2 separate regions of the Homo sapiens genome follow, and region 2 is linked to region 1. Evidence: promoter capture Hi-C in 16 types of primary human blood cells and fetal thymus (Javierre and others, 2016). All regions are on one chromosome and are shown on one strand. Each heading gives the region's core, a stretch centred on a gene start or on the middle of the fragment in contact. The rest is flanking DNA. Distances are from core to core; before and after follow the strand shown. Region 1 holds the start of PSMG1 (proteasome assembly chaperone 1). Region 2 holds the start of SH3BGR (SH3 domain binding glutamate rich protein).

Region 1 (2,996 bases), core at 386-2,885:
TTAACATTGTAAAATTGTTCTCTCTGAAATGTGTGCAGAATTTAAATCATGGCCAAATGTATTACTATTACCCTATTTACAGTAATTTGCTTTGCAGAAAATATTTCTTCATCATGGAACTGTGAAATCAAATTGAAGATCTTACTGGTAAAAATGACAAATTAACAAAAGGACTAAGACAAGTGGTGCCCAAACAACCTTTTTATTCTGCAGTTCCATCATCATAATAGACCAGTTAACCCAGGAGTCCTAATGTTTTAAAACATCATTGTGGTGATCTTGTTTATTCTATCTCACTAAGGATATCCAGTTTCCTAAGCTCTTACTGGCTAGCAATTTCGTCTTAATTTTATTGCTAAATGTTCAAATTTTGCTTCCAAACTCACTTTATTTTTGCAGATGTGTACATCTGCTAAGTACTAATTTTATGTAAATGATTTTGTTGATTATCTTTCCACATCTTAAAATGTTTCTAACAGCTTTGAGATTTTATCTCAACAGGCTCTCTCTGACCCCAAAGTAGTACTTACCTTCGTGACTACTGACAAAGTCACAAAATGCAGGCGATGTCATGTATTTCGGTACAACTAAATCTAGGAAACGGTTTTTTCATTGCATTACTGCATATTTTCATTTTCATTTAAATTATGTCCCCTTTTTCTCTTGCTTGAAACAGTGCTCCTCGAACTTTGTCTTCCAGCACATTTTAAAGAGAACCAATTAAAGAACAATCACACATTCTGCTTATTAAAGGCTATTTAAAAAGAAACATTTTGTATTAGAAAATGGCCAACTTTAAAACACTATTTTTTACACTCATAAAAATGTTTTTTAAATCGCCTTGACAATCATCAGCTTTTGAAATGTGAATTCCTATTGCCAGAGTAAAGGTCTCGTTTTTATACCACCACGAAGCGCTGTATTTCTTGCTGCCCTTGCGTCCGCCCGTGCCCGCTGTCTGAGGGCGCGCCTGGCTACGGGGGCCCTCAGTACCACCGCGCCGCCACCTACCTGGGCAGTCGAAATTTGGAGCGGGTGCTCAGTACACTAATGCTACCCCAGTCTCTCCTAACGCAGAAGGAAAATGGAAACGGACGATGAGGGGACGGCCCCACAGCTCCCGGACGCCACGGCCAGCGGCGCTGGCTCCGCCCCTGCACCCCTGGTTCCGCTACCGCCACGAACGGAGGCCCCGCCCTCCTCTCGCCCCCTGCCCCTCTAGCCCGCAGTCCTCCCACCTCCTGGCGCCCGCAGGGCTCAAGCTGCGAATGAAAGCCTTTGGGGGCCGGACGCGGTGGCTGAGGCCTGTAATCCAAGCACTTTGGGAGGTCTAAGGAGGACGATCGCTAGAGTCCTGGAGTTCGAGACCAGTCTGGGCAACATAGCGAGACCCCCTCCCCCAATCTGTAATTTAAAAACAAAAAAGCTGCGGGGACTGCTGGCCCAGGGCATGACAGCGCGGGCGGGCGGTGTAGAGGGCGTGGCCGCGAGCTCAGGGTGTGCCTGGGAGCGAGCCCTGTGCGGGGCGGGACGTAGCGCCCGCGCGGTGGGGGTGTGGCCGCGAGCTTGGGCTGTGCGCGGAGGGCGTGGCCTGTGCGGGGCGGGACTTATTGCCCGCGCGGTGAGGGAGCGTGGTCTCGCGCAAGCCGGCGTGCGGTCCCGCGGCGCTGCAGTTGTGTCCAGCCGGTCACGGGGCGGCTATGGCGGCCACGTTCTTCGGAGAGGTGGTGAAGGCGCCGTGCCGAGCTGGGACTGAGGACGAAGAGGAGGAGGAGGAGGGGCGGAGGGAGACGCCCGAGGACAGGGAGGTGCGTCTGCAGCTGGCGCGGAAGAGGTGAGGCACCGGGATAAGGGCAGCGCGCTCACCGCAGCTGGAAGGTGCGCGGGCCTGGCAGCCGCGACGGCGCCTAAGGCCGGGGCTCCGCGGTCTTCCGAGTGGCCCCCGCGGTTGCCGCCGCTCCTTGGCTCTGCTTGGGCCCTGGGTCTCCGTGAAGCCGCGGCGTCCAGCGGCGCCAGCCCCAGGTGTGTGTGGTTCTCGCGTGGATCTGCTGGCGTTTCGTGGAGTCCAGGGTGAAGCCGCTGTGGGAGGGCTGGGTTCAAATCCGTTCTTTAAAGGCTTTCTGGAGCGTTTCTGGAGCATTTCTGGAGGCTTGGTGTCTTGCGGACTCGTGATCTTCCCGCTTGTCACACTGTCTTGGGCCGCAGCGCTCCCGCGGGCCCCACCACGTTTGTCGTGGATTGTTCACGGACACACCAATTCCCTCGAAACTTTTTAAACCTGCACCCAACACTTCAATTAGCATGATGTGTCAGTAGCCGATGAACACGCTTTAAAAAAATTGTTTCCAAACACAAAAAAGTGGGAGAAAATAGTCAAGTGAGCCCTGACCCCTACACAACCGGGTAAATTCAACAGGAAGATTTTGCCACGTTTATTTTCTCTCCCGCCACTCCTAAGCGAATTCCAGTCATCATGGCCTTTCACCTCTACATTTTTCAGAATACATCTCAAACGTTTTAGGGATTTTCTTACATATGCTATTATCACCCCTAACAACACTAATACTAATTTTCCAGTATCATTTTGTAGTCCATGCTCACTCACGTTTACCTAGTTTTTTCAAACATGACATTTTACAGTGGTCTGCGTGAATGAGAATCCTAACAGGGTCCACAGGTTACATTTAGACGTGTCACTTCATTTAGAGCAACCTCCTCTTACCCCTCCTAAGAGACAGGACTGATTGTCTTGTCCAGTGCCCCCACACTCTGAATTTGTCTGATAGCTTCGTTGTGGTGTCACTTAACGTTTGTATCACCTGCATGTCCTGTAAAATGAATGTTCATTTGGAGGCTTGGTCAGATTCTCATTCAAAGTTTTGTCGGCAAGAATGCTTCTACTAAGTGGTGCTTTCTGTTTCTTATTGCAGGCTATCCCCAGCTGTCTCACTTTTAGGGATGCTAAGATTGGTTCTTGGGTCAGGTGGACAGCCTGA
Region 2 (2,996 bases), core at 186-2,685, 270 kb before region 1:
CAGACAGACACTATATAGGTTCAAGCCTAAAATCAAAGTCTGACCCATTTCCAAAGAGAAATGTGTCACTTCATCACCCCTATTTCTTACGGCAGGTCCAGCTTGCACAGAATGAAGGCCAGAATTGAAGAGGTAGATGGTCTCAAGAAAATTAGACAAAGCACTGGTTATGAAGGTCGGCTTTCAGCTCTTATTTTGGGGCCGTCTGAATGCCTGGAGTGTTTATAACTGTGGCCTGAGAGATGTCTGCTCTGGTCACTGTGACATCACTTTCCTCAAACAATGGATTACACATGCTAACTTTACACTTTCAGTATGGTTACATCATTACATGGCATATACAAGTGATTACACCCCAGAGTCATTTTAGCAATCTGGTTCATCATCCGCTCCAAACAGTGTTACACAAAGTATCATTTATTTACAATTTTAAATTAGTTTAAGCCTTGCAGAATGAATGGCAGAAACACATACAAAAAAGTCCCTGCTTCTATGATATTCACAAGGCAACACAACACAAATCACATGTTAAAAATTCTAGTGTCAAGCACGCCTCCTTACTCGAATCCCTTTTCACACCCAGCCATCCAGATTACACCCTTTCCATGCTTTTTCAACACTATGAAATCAAATGCAGAAAGCAAAGGGCGCACATACTTATTGCAGAGCCACAGCTGACTACACGCAAAAAAGAAACTGAAGGCCAACGTTGGCCATATTTCCAACCCTAAGTTATTCAGAAAAGAGTATAGGAAGAAAGAGTCCACCAGACACCTACCGCTATGGACCCAGAAGATGTAGCAACAAACACTTTGATAACCATTTCGACAGTTGGAAAGAGGACTCCCCCCAACACACCCCTGTCAGGGAATGCGCCGCTAGACAAATCCTGACAGTGACACAGGCAAGCAAGTGCCAGGTCGGGGCTGGCAGCAGCCCAGGGGTCCACTGGGCTCCGGCAGTCCCGCTCCAACTTAAGAGGCTCTGTCTCTCCAAGGAGCAGCAGAGGCATCTTGGGCTCCTCCCTCCATTGGCCCAGGAATATTTTGGGATCTGTCAGGAAAATATTTGATTGGTCGATAAAAGCAGCCACTGGACCCTTTCCCTATCACTTTAAACGCGCGACAACAGTCCCTAAAAGGCCAGGCTGTGCTGTGCACCAATCGGAGACCTGTGCAGAGATGCCTTGGGGCCAAGGGAGGTGGGGCCCCGGTAACAGAGCAGCAGGAGGCGAAAGAAGTGAGGGAGGAGCTCTTGGGAGCTGGAAAAGCCCAGAAAACACCACCTCAGTCTAGGAGGAGGCTGGGTTTAAAGGGCTTTTGGCAAACAAATAAACTGGAAGGGTCAGAATAGCCACAGAGGCCTTTAAGTAAAGAGCAACTTTGTTTTTTTTCCTGGCAGGTTAAAAAAAATTTTTTAAGTAAACTGTCATACAATAGAAATGCCTTTAAGAGTGGCTGTTTCCAGTGTGCTCTCTTTCCCACCTGTTTCTCCTAAAGAACAGAAACTGACCAGCCATGGGCCATCTAAAGTTTCACTGACATCCAGGGAGGTAGGGAAATAGCCGCTGGCTTCTCAATACTCATGGCTGCAACAAGCCAATTGTCTCACTATTTTATTTACTTGTCACTGACTTGAAGTTTATTAACTATTTTAAAGTGCTTGGGGAAAAAACCAAAATAATCTGTTTATAACAGGCTCTTTGTTTACATAGGTATTTTGTGTTTATTTATATATATTTGTGTTTATACATGTTAATATTTATATAGGTATTTTGAATTGTGTTAAAAGTTAGAGAAGGTCCGGGGCAGTGTCTCACACCTGTAATCCCAACACCTTGGGAGGTCAAGGCAGGAGGATTGTGTGAGCCCAGAAGTTCAAGACCAGTCTGGGTAACATACTGAGGTACGACTTTACCAACAACAATAACACAAAAAAAAACAGCCAGGCATGTTGGCAGGCGCCTGTATCTGTATTTCCAGCGACTTGGAAGGCTGAGGTGGAAGGATCCCTTGAGCCCTTTAGCCAGGAGTTTGAGGCTGCAGTGAGCTATGATCACACCCACGGCACTCCAGCCTGGGTGACAGAACAAGACCTTATCTCTAAAACAAAACCAAATCAAACAAACAAACAAATTAAATTAAAGGAATACAAAATCTAGCAAAGAAGCCCAAATGCCAGTTATGCAAATTCTTCTGATAGATTTCAAAATCAAGATCAAGGGCATTAGGGACAAAGGGCTAGTTTTTCAAGAAGCACTTGGGGGATATTTAGCTTAGATAACTGAGTCTCTTACTGTCTCTCTCTCTCTCTGTTCTCCGGCTCCCTTTTTAAAATCCCCTGCTGCCCATCATGGATTGGGTGGCACCGACGTTCCGAAGCAGAGAGGAATCTCCCAGGCTTCTGTACTCCCTCTTCACCTGAGTCCCAGAGCCCCAGAGGCATGTTTCCCACCCCCTCAGGTAGGTGCCTGCAACGAGAAAAGACATCCCAGTCCCCGGAATATCCCAGTTCCTGGAATATCGCTTAAATGCCCCTACATCACAATGAATGATTGAGGTGACTACCAACATTTAACTTTTGGCTTCAACATGCAAAGTTAGCTGCTCCAAAAATAAGGTCCTTGATGAAGATGATTAATGGTTCCCCAAATTTAAGTCAGTAGAATTATAAATTTTATTTTAAAGCACACCAAGGATTACAGATCAGTTTTTCTTTTCTGCATTTTCAAAATTTCTACAGTACGTATTATTTTTTCATACAATTATATATTTTCACACCTTAAAGTCTGCCACATAAGCATGCCATATTTCTCCAAATATTACTTGAAGAAAGTGGGGGCATATTTTCTAATGACTTTGTAAGTTAGTAGCATAAACTATAGCTGGATTCTCAGGTGCTCTAGAGAATACGCATCTCTTGATTATATCAGGTGAAAACTGCCCTCAATAATGACACCTCCTCCATCTGCAAACCCTGGGGAGAAATTAATTTCC

What was found. Contacts are between HindIII fragments. The CHiCAGO score rates a contact against its expected background, and 5 or more counts as called.
Region 2: a fragment that was not itself captured here is called in contact with the fragment with the promoter of PSMG1 in region 1 in 7 of 17 cell types (naive CD8 T cells, total CD8 T cells, total B cells and 4 more); the score reaches 9.9 in naive CD8 T cells.

The regions. Positions count from the first base shown.
Region 1 is chr21:39,182,090-39,185,085 of GRCh38, reverse strand. It overlaps PSMG1 (proteasome assembly chaperone 1), which reads left to right and starts at 1,635. Exons shown (of 7, transcript NM_003720.4): 1 at 1,635-1,834. The coding sequence starts at 1,701. It also overlaps a transcript of BRWD1 not described here. RefSeq lists silencers at 1,460-1,679, 1,880-1,959. The HindIII fragment of the contact is 4,125 bases long and covers 1-2,996 here.
Region 2 is chr21:39,449,924-39,452,919 of GRCh38, reverse strand. All of the region lies in intron 8 of GET1-SH3BGR (GET1-SH3BGR readthrough), which reads right to left. It overlaps SH3BGR (SH3 domain binding glutamate rich protein), which reads right to left and starts at 950. Exons shown (of 7, transcript NM_007341.3): 1 at 779-950. The coding sequence starts at 823. RefSeq lists an enhancer at 970-1,508. The HindIII fragment of the contact is 9,000 bases long and covers 1-2,996 here.